2 separate regions of the Homo sapiens genome follow, and region 2 is linked to region 1. Evidence: promoter capture Hi-C in human tissues and cell types (Jung and others, 2019). All regions are on one chromosome and are shown on one strand. The core of a region is centred on a gene start or on the middle of the fragment in contact, and the rest is flanking DNA. Distances in the headings are between cores, read along the strand shown. Region 1 holds the start of CNPY2 (canopy FGF signaling regulator 2). Region 2 overlaps RBMS2 (RNA binding motif single stranded interacting protein 2).

Region 1 (6,154 bases), core at 2,898-5,397:
TGTGCCTGGCCTAGTGTGGTTTTCATTTATTTTATTTTATTTATTTATTTATTTTTTTGAGACGGAGTCTCACTCTTTCGCCCAGGCCGGACGCAGTGGCACTATCTTGGCTCAGTGCAAGCTCCGCCTCCAGGGTTCACACCATTCTCCTGCCTCAGCCTCCCGGGTAGCTGGGACTACAGGCGCCCACCACCACGCCCAGCTAATTTTTTGTATTTTTAGTAGAGACGGGTTTCACCGTGCTAGCCAGGATGGTCTCGATCTCCTGACCTAGTGATCCGCCCACCTTGGCCTCCCCAGGTGCTGGGATTACAGGCATGAGCCACCGCGCCCGGCCTGGTTTTAAATTAATATGGTTTACTTGATAGTTTCAAAGTACTTCTTTTTTTTTTTTTTTTTTTTTTTTTTGAGACAGGCCTCACTCCGTTGCCCAGGCTGGAGTGCAGTGGTGTGATGACTGAGGCTCACTACAGCTTGGATCTCCCAGGCTTAGGTGATCCTCCCATCTCAGCCTCACACAGATGCACACCACCACACCCAGCTACTTTTTTATATTTTTTTTGTAGAGACGGGGTCTTGCCATGTTGCCCAGGCTGGTCTCGAACTCCTGTGCTCAAGTGATCTGCCTGCCTTGGCCTCCAAGAGTGCTGGGATTACAGGTATGAGCCACTGTACTTGGCAGTAGTTTCAACTATATGATTTTATTTTACCTCATTGTACAATTCTTTTTTTTTTTCTTTTTTTTTTTGAGATGGAGTTTCACTCTTGTTGCCCAGGCTGGAGTGCAATGGCGCGATCTCGGCTCACCGCAAGCTCCACCTCCCGGGTTCAAGTGATTCTCCTGCCTCAGCTTCCCGAGTAGTTGGGATTACAGGCATGTGCCACCACGCCCAGCTAATTTTGTATTTTTAGTAGAGACGGGGTTTCTCCATGTTGGTCAGGCTGGTCTCAAACTCCCAACTTCAGGTAATCCACCCGCCTCAGCCTCCCAAAGTGCTGGGACTACAGGCATGAACCACCGTGCCCGGCACCTCATTGTACAATTCTAAGAAACAAGACAGTTAACATTAGCTCCAAGTTATAAACAGAATTTTTTGATTAACCTGATCAACTTATACTTCTAATTTCTATAGATGAAGATAATTTTTTTTTAAATTATAGTTTAAGTTCTGAGATACATGTGCAGAACGTGCAGGTTTGTTGCATAGGTATACATGTGCCATGGTGGTTTGCTACACCCATCAACCTGTCATCTACATTAGGTATTTCTCCTAATGCTATCCCTCCCCTAGCCCCCAACACCCCAACAGGACCTGATGTGTGACGTTCCCCTCCCTGTGTCCATGTGTTCATTAATATTTTATTTTTGGCCGGGCGTGGTGGCTCACGCCTGTAATCCCAGCACTTTGAGAGGCCGAGGAGGGTGGCTCACTTGAGGTCAGGAGTTCGAGACCATCCTGACCAACATGGAGAAACCCTGTCTCTACTAAAAATACAAAATTATCCAGGTGTGGTGGTGCATGCCTGTAATCCCAGCTACTCGGGAGGCTGAGGCAGGAGAATCGCTTGAACCCGGGAGGCAGAGGTTGCGGTGAGCCGAGATCGTGTCATTGCACTCCAGCCTGGGCAACAAGCCCTAAACTCCATCTCAAAAAAATAATAATAATTTTGTTTAAATTGAGACTAATATCCTCAGTAAGCACAGTATTAAAGATGTAGTGTAGGCTCTGTGAACAACAGCTATTAAAGTACCATAATCTTTTTTCTTTTCTTTTTTTTTTTTTGAGAGGAGTCTCGCTGTGTCGCCCAGGCTAGAGTGCAGTGGCACCATCTCAGCTCACTGCAAGCTCTGCCTCCCGAGTTCACGCCATTCTTTTCGTCTCAGCCTCCTGAGTAGCTGGGACTACAGGCACCCACCACCACGCCCGGCTAATTTTTTGTATTTTTAGTAGAGACGGGGTTTCACCATGTTAGCCAGGATGGTTTCGATCTCCTGACCTTGTGATCTGCCCACCTCAGCCTCCCAAAGTGCTGGCATTACGGGCGTGAGCCACCGCGCCCGGCCTTTTTTTTTTTTCAAGACAGAGTTTTGTTCTTGTCAACCAGACTGGAGTGCAGTGGTGCGATCTTGGCTCACTGCAACCTCTGCCTCCTGGGTTCAAGTGATTCTCCTGCCTCAGCCTCCTGAGTAGCTGGGACTATAGGCATGAGCCACCACGCCTGGCTACTTTTTTGTATTTTTAGTAGAGACGGAGTTTCACCATGTTGGCCAGGCTGGTCTCGAACTTCTAACCTCAGGTGATCCGCCTGCCTTGGCCTCCCAAAGTGCTGGGTTTTGGTTTTTTTTTGAGACAGGGTCTTGCTGTGTTTCCCAGGCTGGAGTGCAGTGGCACAATCACGGCTTACTGCAGCCTCGACCTCCTGGGCTCAAGTGATCCTCCCACCTCAGCCTTCCAAGCAGCTGTCACTACAGGCACATGCCACCATGCACTGCTAACTTTTGCATTTTTTTGTAGAGTTGGTGTTTTGCCATGATGCCCAGGCTAGCACTGTAATCTTAACACTGCCTTATATATTGCTTATTAGATACACCTTTGTGTACATGTGTGTTGTTTTCGATTAAAATTTCCTAATTATGAGGATAAGACCTTTTATTCTTATTTCTGTTTTTTCATTTTTTATTTTTAGCTCCGACTCAGATTTTGAACGGATGTTTGCATGTATACCACAGTGCTACATTAAAAACCAGTCATGTGGATGTGGAGAAGGGTGCTGATCAGGACTCCCTGTTTGCTAACAAATTCTACAGCAGAAACAAAGTATTAAGGTTTGCAGCCAGGAAGCAAGTGCATGGGGAATAAGCCTGCAGCTTCTTCCAAATGAGACAGAGCCAAATCTTTTTTCTGAGTCTGTTTTCTTCATTTCTATTAAACCAAGGTCCTTTTTAAGCAGTCGAATTTCATCCAAAGCCAGAGTGAGCTACTTTGTTTGGGGGAACAGTAACAGTTACCTCCACCACTGACTGGCTGCCATCTGGATTGATCCGGAAAGATCCCATCTGAATGGTCTTCTTGGGGTCCACCTGGGCAATTTCCCATTCTAGTTCATCCACCAGAGCCCTGCATGCTGGTGGAAGAGGAGAGAATGAGAGCAGGGGACAGGGTAGGGGGTAGGGTGTGAGGAGAATGGGATCAACCCAGGATTTCCATTCATCCTTCTCCCAGGCCTTGGATCTCATGCCCTCCCAAGGCTCTGCTTCCTCCACTTCTTTTTCCCGTTGTGCCTTTACCTCCACAGTGGAGATCCTGGCTCCTCCGAGCCCAGGCGGTTCCCAGCAGGGCCCCCAGAAGCAGGGCCAGCCAACCCCAGCCTTTCATCTTTAGCGTAATGGGGTCGCTCCACCTGGGTTTGAGTGGGAATAAAACATAAGTGTGAGGAGCCGACTCCATTTTTCCCTGACCCCCCCAATCCTCACCCCAAGGCTTTCAAAGGCCTCATTGTGACTCTGGCTCTACTTTCCAGGAAATGGCCGGGACACAAAGGGGCTTCTCTGTTCCAGCGCTTGAGGGCTCTGATTCCCCCAGGGTGGTGGGTGGGAGCGCGAGCTCAGGACTTGCGGCTCAGCCCCAGACTCTACGTGGATAGGTGAGGCCCTAAGTGTTGGTACTTTAGCACTGCATGCCTAGGGTTCACGGGGCTTTGTGGCAGCTACAGGAGGTAAGTTGGCGATTACGTGAGGACTACAGGCACTAGGGAACTGCCGGCAGGGAGCCCTCAGTCAGGCCAGGAGGCCAGCGAGGAGAGCAATAACTAGGGCCCATTTGGATCCTGCACCGAAGATTCCTGCGTCCCCACCTCCAGCCCGTAAGTGATTACCCGTACGGACACCAGCCCCCTTTCTAAGGACTCCGCCATTGCTTTCGCTTCAGTCCATCCCCAACCCTCAGCGCCCAGCGCCTCGCCGCCCGCATCCGTCCCACCTCTGCTCCCAGGGCCGCCGCCGTGGCCCAAGCGCTGGAAGACCGCTGGACTCTCACTTTGGCCCCAGTGGCTCCCGAAACTACACCTGGCTGCAGGGAGCAGGGCTGTCCGGGATTCTCCAGAGCGCTTCGCCGCCTGCCACACACGGGGTGTCCCGGCGACCGCCTGACCCAGCTCCCCTGACGCTAACTGGTACCTAAGCGGGACTCCAGCGTGCTGCGGTGCGAGCCCCAATCAGACACCGACCCCAAACCCGCCCCTCCAAACTCTCGCGCGAACAGGCAGCTTAGGAGAGGCTCCCGAACAGCAAGGACCCCGGTCAATCGCCGAAGGACCCAGACTTGCGTGGCGAACAGATCCACGTGACCACCAGGGGTCAGCCGTAGAATAGGAGTGGCCTTAAGCGACGACAGAGTCCGGGCGTGCTGTATGGGAGCGGCTAGTCGTGCGCGTGAGCCAGCCCAGGTGGGCTAGGACCTTCAAAACGGTGCGCTGCCGGCCAGCGAGCAGTCCAGGTTTCAATACACAGGAAACTACATCTCCCAGGAAGCACCGCAGCACCGGACCCATCTTTGTGAGCAACTACAAGTCTCAAGCTATCCTGGGACCTGTAGTTTGTCGGCTTACACAATTAACGGAAACCATACTGTACATCTTCAGTCTGACTTAGGGTACTGGGCAGCTATAGCAAAGACCCAGCATTGCCCAGAAAAGGCATAAATTATACCTTTTTCCCCTTTTTTTGAGACGGAGTCTCGCCCTATCGCCCAGGCTGGCATACAGTGGCGTGATCTCGGCTCACTGCAACCTCCGCCTCCCGGGTTGAAGCAATTTTCTGCCTCAGCTAGGGTTACAGTCGCCATCCACCACTCCCAGCTAATTTTTGTATTTTTAGTAGAGACGGGGTTTCACCATCTTGGTCAGGCTGGTCTTTAACTCCTGACCTCGTGTTCCACCCACCTCTGCCTCCCAAAGTGCTAGGATTACAGAAGTGAGCCACCGCGCCCGGCCTAATTATACCCTTTCATATCCATAACTTTGGATTCCGGACCTTTACCTTCAAAGGAAGGAGAGGAAGACTGAAGCCAGAGAACCCACACTAGCAGTTCTCTAATGAGATAAATAACAAACGATATTTTATTTTTATTTTATAAAACATGCAGTTTACAACAAATTTTTAAAAAATGGAACAAAACTTGGGACAGGCAAGTGGGATGGAAGACAGATGCTTCTCAGCCATCAGCAGGAATAAATGAAGCCGGCAGCCAAGCTTTGTCCAGGATCCAAAGGCCCTTTTGGCAATGGTATTGGCAACACTGGTTTGCTTGGGCCACCAACACTCTACTTGCTGGCCCCTCCAGGTATCCCTGAAGCAGTTGGTGACTTGTGCTAAGTCTTGAACTACTGTGGTATCCTCTGTCACTGTCCAGGACTTCAATCCCTAGCCAGCTAGGAACTTACAGTTATGGTTCCAGGAGCTTCTCTGCCTGGATATTAGTCACCCAGGATATTAAGAATACCAATTACTTTCCATCTGGGTCAATTCTAGACTCCATGTCTGTACCACTGTTTTGCAAAGAATGAAGAAGGAATGAATCTGGCTCCTAGAACCTTTGCAACAATTCTGCTGTGTTCCAGTTCAATTAATAGCACCATCTGTGACCCTAGACCCTGAGCACGTCCAGTACTGGAAGTGGACAAGGTATAGCCAACTTAGGAAGCCATCTCCCAGTTCTGGGGCTATAGAACAGTAAAGGGAGAGGGCCGTGGTTCTTTGGGAAGGGTAGTCAGAGCGCCAGCACTGAGGAGAAGACAGCTGCATCTGTCAGAGACAAAACCAAAAGCATGATTCAAGCTGAGTGGAGAAAAAGCATCTTCTCATACTTCCTATGAAGGAAAAATGCAAGAGAAAAAAGGGCATGGACCTTCCCTGAACATTTTAGACTTGGGCAAGAGGAAGTTATAGTTAATGGAGAGTTTCGATAAAATGTATTTTACTGAATGTTAGGAGGATGAAGTGCTTTGTAAACTGTTAAGTGCTATTCTCCATATGTGCAATCAAAATCCACCCAATTGGGGGCGCTCAGGCTCATGCCTGTAATCCCAGCACTTTGTGAGCCCAAGGTGGGTGGATCGCTTGAGCCCAGGAGTTTAAGACCAGCCTGGGCAACAT
Region 2 (6,154 bases), core at 1,198-3,697, 260 kb after region 1:
TATTGGATGATATTGCCATTTTGCACATTCTGTCCCCTGGAAGGGCTCTCCTACCTCTTCTTCCAGGAGTAAAACCCTCTGACAAAAGCTCAAAGGTTTAGGAGCCTTCAGGGTCCTAGGAGACTGTAGCTTTCAGGGCTCCGTGGTGACACAGTGAACTCTGCATCTGGCTCTCTCCCTGTTCCCTTCTCCCCTCCTCCTGCTCTTCCTCCATCAGGGAGTGAACAGGCATTCCTACTTAGAGGATTCTGCGTGGCTGGAAGAGAAGTGGGGAGGGGCTGCTCAAAACAAGCCAGCCAAGGAGCAAGGCAGTCTGAGGGAATCCAGCCTCTGGGACCGGCTGCTGGGGGAGAGCGGGAATGCTGCTCTGCCTGTTTCTAAAAGAGACAGCCAAACACCATTTATGACTTGTATGATGGGCTTGTATAGTACTAGAAATATTAAATCTGCACTTCTCCCTCCTGGAACTCAATATACAACCCGTGGTAGTGGGACTGGGTGTTAACAAATAGAATAATCTTTGTTTATGTGGGACCCTTCCTATAGTCTCTTTTCTGAAATGTCATTTGTGGGGAGGGCTGAGGGTGGGAGAGGGATAAGAGATGTGAGCCTCATTTTCTCACTGTTATTTCCACAGCAACAGGAACAGGACCCCACAAATTTATACATCTCAAACCTCCCACTGTCAATGGATGAGCAGGAACTGGAGGGGATGCTGAAGCCCTTTGGCCAGGTTATCTCCACCCGTATCCTTCGAGATACCAGTGGGACCAGCAGAGGTGTTGGCTTTGCAAGGTGAGGATGGCAGGAGTGGGGAAATGATGAGGTTAATAACAAATGTCACTTGGGGGTCACCAGAAAACAAAATCTATGCCTTTCCCACACAAGGTCAAAATACTTTACTATTATTCAAAAATACTTGATGGTAAGTCAAAAGTTCATTTTAGGCCAGGTGCGGTGGCTTACACCTGTAATCCCAGCACTTTAGGAGGCCAAGGCAGGCATATCACCTGAGGTCAGGAGTTTGAGACCAGCCTGGCAAACATGGTGAAACCCCGTCTCTACTAAAAATACAAAAATTAGCCAGACGTGGTGGCGCATGCCTGTAATCCCAGCTACTCAGGAGGCTGAGGCAGGAGAATTGCTTGAACCTGGGAGGCAGAGGTTGCAGTGAGCTGAGATCGCACCACTGCACTGCAGCCTGGGGAACAGAGTGAGACTCTGTCTCAAAAAAAAAAAAAAAAAAAAGGTTCATTTTATTATAGGTTACAATACTCAAAAACCCATTAGCCCCACCTAAATATTTTTTTTATAAAGATGGGGTCTTGCTGTGTTGCCCAGGCTGCTCTTGAACATCTGGGCTCAAGTGATCCTCCTGCCTCAGCCACCTAAGCAGTTGGGATTACAGGCATGAGCCACCACACTCGGCTAAGCTCCCTACTACTTCCTAGGGAAGTACTCTAGGCTTTGTTCCTTTAATCCAGACCCAACCAGAGTAAAAAATTCTGTATATTCTTATAGTTTACTGAGTATTTCTCATCTTGTCTCATTTAATCTTTACAACATCCCTGTGAGATAAATATTCTCTATCTTACAGATGAGGAAAGTGAACTCTTCAGTAGAAATGATTTGCCCAGGGTCTTACAGGAGTGGGTGTTAGAGCAGAGCCCTGATCCTTCTGGCTTTGAGAGCAGTAGGATGAGGTAGAAGTTTTGATCTTCCTTTTCAGATCTGTTGGGAGACCTGTATTCCAGAACAATTCTGCACCTGTGATATCAGAGCTTGTGAGCCTTGGTTCACTCTCTGAAGTGGAGATTGATTCAGATGAGTAATTTTCCCACAGTATTCCCTATACCTGCAGTTTTCCCAGGTGCCCTTCTTTGGGCTTTGGTATCTGCCCTCACTGTCGTAGGGTATCAGCCTCCCTTAGCCCACTTAAGAAATGGCTCTGCTTTTATTTATTTTAAGATTTTATTTGAAAGGAGATTCTTTTGACTTTTTTTTTTTTTTTTAGTTTCAAAATGACTGGACTAAGTGAGCCAAGCACCCCTTTTTGCTTTATATCTTGTCTGGTCCGTGAACACCCCCTTACTCTGAGTGTTTCAGACCTTGGGAACAAGAAATAGTTTCTCTTGGCTGGGCGTGGTGGCTCACGCCTGTAATCCCAGCACTTTGGGAGGCTGAGGCGGGTGGATCACCTGAGGTCAGGAGTTTGAGACCAGCCTGGCCAACCTGGTGAAACCCCGTCTCTACTAAAAATACAAAAATTAGCTGGGTATGGTGGCGGGCTCCTGTAGTCCCAGCTACTCGGGAGGCTGAGGCAGGAGAATCACTTGAACCCGGGAGGCGGAGGTTGCAGTAAGCCGAGATCGCGCCATTGCATTCCAGCCTGGGCAGCAAAGCGAGACGCCATCTCAAAAAAAAAAAAAAAAAAAAAAAAAAGAAGAAGAAGAAAAGAAATAGTTCCTCTTCCCCAGCTGACTCAAGCTTAGTAGCACCACCTGCTGGCAATCCCGTGTATATCTAAAGGAGAGTTCCTAGGCTTGGGACCATCGAACTTATTTTGCAGGTTGAGCAGAGGTTCTTAACCTTTCTCAGTTTGTGCCACCCTTAGTTATCTAATAGTTTTTCACCCTAGACCAAAAGAAATACCTAACAGTTCAATTTATTAAGTAACTGAATGGTCCACACTTTTTTTTTTTTTTTTTGAGACGGAGTCTCGCTCTGTCGCGTACCACAGGTGCGTACCACCACGCCTGGCTAATTTTTGTATTTTTGTTGTTGTTGTTGTTGTTGTTGAGACGAAGTCTCACTCTGTTGCCCAGGCTGGAGTGCAATGGCACAATCTTGGCTCACTGCAACCTCTGCCTCCCGGGTTCAAGTGATTCTCCTGCCTCAGCCTCCTGAGTAACTGGGATTACAGGCGCCCGCCACCATGCCCAGCTAATTTTTGTATTTTTAGTAAAGATGTGGTTTCACCAGGTTGTCCAGGCTGTTCTCGAACTCCTGACCTCAGGTTATCCAGCCGCCTCAGCCTCCCAAAGTGCTAGGATTACAGGCATGAGCCACTGCGCCCAGCCAGTCCACACAACTTTTTAAAAAAATTTCCTGACAGCAGTAACTTCATGGTCCATACAGCTTAAGAAGTGTTTATGCTTTAACAACTTTGTAGCTGTTTGAAAAAATAATACACAAACATTGAAAGAGAGCATGTCTTTATTTCATTCTAACTATACTTACTAATGGAATATGTGCCTGTTGGAATTGCACAACTTCTCAAAATTTGGTATCAGAATGGACACCTACACACTCATTTCCTGTTACGTATTGGTTTTCTTATGGTATTTGCTTTTGTCATAGCAACTATTTAAACCCAGCTTTGTGAAAATATGATGTTATCTATCAAAAGGATTGTAGGGGGAACTAATGTTGAAGCAGTGTACAATTTTGAGTTAGTAGTGCACACATTCTCCAACAGATATTGCTGTTTTTCTTCAAAGAGTTAAAATAACCCTCGTTGTGACCCTCTGAGTTCACCACAGCCACCCACAGTGCCTGAGAGCACAGTTTAGGAACTGTGGCTTTAGAGACTTTTGAAAAACTATGAAATCTCTTATATGTTTCTATGTTAATGTCTACAAGTTTTCTTCATATATTCAGATTCATGCAAAGTATGATTTCCAGCAAATTATAAATATTGGCATTTAAAATAAAACTGTTACTTCGTTTAAAAATGTATTCAAATGAGATCTAAATATCATAGCAATCTGATACACAAATCATTCATTTAAAAAATACCTGACTTTGGCCGGACTCCGTGACTCACGCCTATAATCCTAGCACTTTGGGAGGCCGAGGCGGGCGGATCATGAGGTCAGGAGATCGAGATCATCCTGGCTAACATGGTGAAACCCCATCTCTACTAAAAATACAAAAAATTAGCCGGGCGTGGTGGCGGGCGCCTGTAGTCCCAGCTTACTCGGAAGGCTGATGCTGGAGAATGGTGTGAACCCGGGAGGCGGAGCTTGCAGTGAGCCCAGATTGCACCAAGGCGCTTCAGCCTGGGCGACATGCACTTCAGCCTGGGCAACAGAGTGAGACTCGTCTCAAAAAAAAACCCGACTTTGGGAGGCTGAGGCGGGCAGATCACTTGAGCTCAGGAGTTCAAGACCAGCCTGGGCAACATGTGAAACCCCATCTCTACAAAAACAAAACAAACAAAAAAAATTAGCTGAGCATGGTGGCACGTGCCTATAGTTCCAGCTACCTGGGAGGCTAAGGTGGGAGGATCACCTGAGCCCAGGAGGTCAAAACTGCAGTCAACCATGATCACACCACTGCACTCTGGCCTGGGCTACAGAGTGAGACCCTGTCTCAATAAATAAATCAATACAGGAATATGGGTAGGGCTGGAGGCAGATGGGGTGGGTCTTGCCCTGGGGATGGAGCTATGGGCCCATAGGACCCCCAGCCACTTCCTAGTCCCCCTTACCCCTACACCCCCCCTCAAAAAAAAAGGGCTATTTTTTTTTAAATTAAATACAGTAGTCTCGGCCAGGCATGGTGGCTCACGCCTGTAATCCCAACACTTTGGGAAGCCAAGGCAGGCAGATCACCTGAGGTCGGGAGTTCGAGACCAGCCTGACCAACGTGGAAAAACCCCGTCTCTACTAAAAATGCAAAATTAGCTGGGCATGGTGGCGCATGCCTGTAATCCCAGCTACTCAGGAGGCTGAGGCAGGAGAATCATTTGAACCTGGGAGGCGGAGGTTACGGTGAGCTGAGATCACGCCATTGCACTCCAGCCTGGGCGACAAGAGCAAAACTCCATCTCAAAGAAAAAAAAAAAAATAGAGTGGTCCCCCCTTATTTATGGTTTTACTTTCTATGGTTTCAGTTACCCACAGTCAACTGAAAATATTAAATGGAAAAGTCCAGAAATAGTTACAAAGTTTTTAAATTGTATGCCATTCTGAGTAGCATGATTAAATTTCAGGCTGGGCTCGGTGGCTCATGTCTGTAATCCCAACACTTTGGGAGGCCGAGGCGAGCAGATCACTTGAGATCAGGAGGTCAAGACCAGCCTGGTCAACATGGTAAAACCCCATCTCCATTAAAAATACAAAGCTAGCCAGGAGTGGTAGTGTGCACCTGTAGTCCCAGGTACTCGGGAGGCTGAGGCAGTAGAATTGCTTGAACCTGAGAGGCAGAGGTTGCAGTGAGCCAAGATCACACCACTGCACTCTAACATGAGTGACACAGTGAGATTCTGTCTCAAAAACATAAATAAATAAAAAATTTCATGTTGTCCGCTCCATCCCACCCTTTGTCCAAAGTATCCACACTGCAAATGCTACCCACCCATTAGTCACTTAGTAGCCATTGTGGCCATCAGATGAAAAAGCGTAGTATATCTAGGGTTTGGTACTATCCATGGTTTCAGGCATCCACTAGGGGACTTGGAATGTATCTCCTGAGGATAAGGGGGGACTACTAGAGTCATAAATCTCATATCATTCTTATATTCCTTTTTTCTTCTTGAACTTGTGTTTCTATTCCATTTCTCTATAGAATTTTGTTTCTATTCCATTTCTCTATAGAATTGTATTCTAGTGTAAAATATTTTTATAAAGTCTTTATGGATCATCTTGTCATACTTCTCTGCAACAAAAATATGTATATAAATTAAAAATTTTGGCCAGGCATGGTGGCTCATGCCTGTATAATACCAGCACTTTGGGAGGCTGAGGTGGGCGGATCACTTGAGGTCAGGAATTTGAGACCAGCCTGGCCAAAATGGTGAAACCCCGTCTCTACTAAAAATATAAAAATTAGCTAGGTGTGTTGGTGGGCACCTGTAATTCCAGCTACTTAGGAGGCTGAGGTGAGAGAATCACTTGAACCTGGGAGATGGAGGTTGCAGTGAGCTGAGATCACACCACTGCACTCCAGCCTGGATGACAGAGTGAGATTCCAAAAAAAAAAAAAAAAAAAAGTTATCTTTACAATGATGAGCTCACAATTGCCCAGACAACATAAATATATTAAAATGTTCATACAAGGCCAGGGGCAGTGGCTCACGCCCGTAAGCCCAGCACTTTGGGAGGCCAAGGTGGGTGGATCACCTGAGGTCAGGAGTTCGAGACCAGCCTGG

What was found. Contacts are between HindIII fragments. The study calls those that stand out against the background at their distance.
Region 2: a fragment that was not itself captured here is called in contact with the fragment with the promoter of CNPY2 in region 1 in 2 of the 25 tissues and cell types used here (heart right ventricle and pancreas).

The regions. Positions count from the first base shown.
Region 1 is chr12:56,311,841-56,317,994 of GRCh38, forward strand. It overlaps CNPY2 (canopy FGF signaling regulator 2), which reads right to left and starts at 4,148. Exons shown (of 6, transcript NM_014255.7): 1 at 3,981-4,148; 2 at 3,290-3,402; 3 at 3,011-3,126. The coding sequence starts at 3,377. It overlaps PAN2 (poly(A) specific ribonuclease subunit PAN2), which reads right to left. Exons shown (of 26, transcript NM_014871.6): 26 at 5,096-5,803. The coding sequence ends at 5,769. CNPY2-AS1 (CNPY2 antisense RNA 1) reads left to right here. Exons shown (of 2, transcript XR_002957416.2): 1 at 1-659; 2 at 2,689-2,968. RefSeq lists enhancers at 4,133-4,721, 4,222-4,271, 4,352-4,501. The HindIII fragment of the contact is 7,285 bases long and covers 1-6,154 here.
Region 2 is chr12:56,571,061-56,577,214 of GRCh38, forward strand. It overlaps RBMS2 (RNA binding motif single stranded interacting protein 2), which reads left to right. Exons shown (of 14, transcript NM_002898.4): 5 at 638-795. Among named protein-coding and RNA genes, the nearest start is that of RBMS2, 52 kb to the left of the region's middle. The HindIII fragment of the contact is 8,132 bases long and covers 1-6,154 here.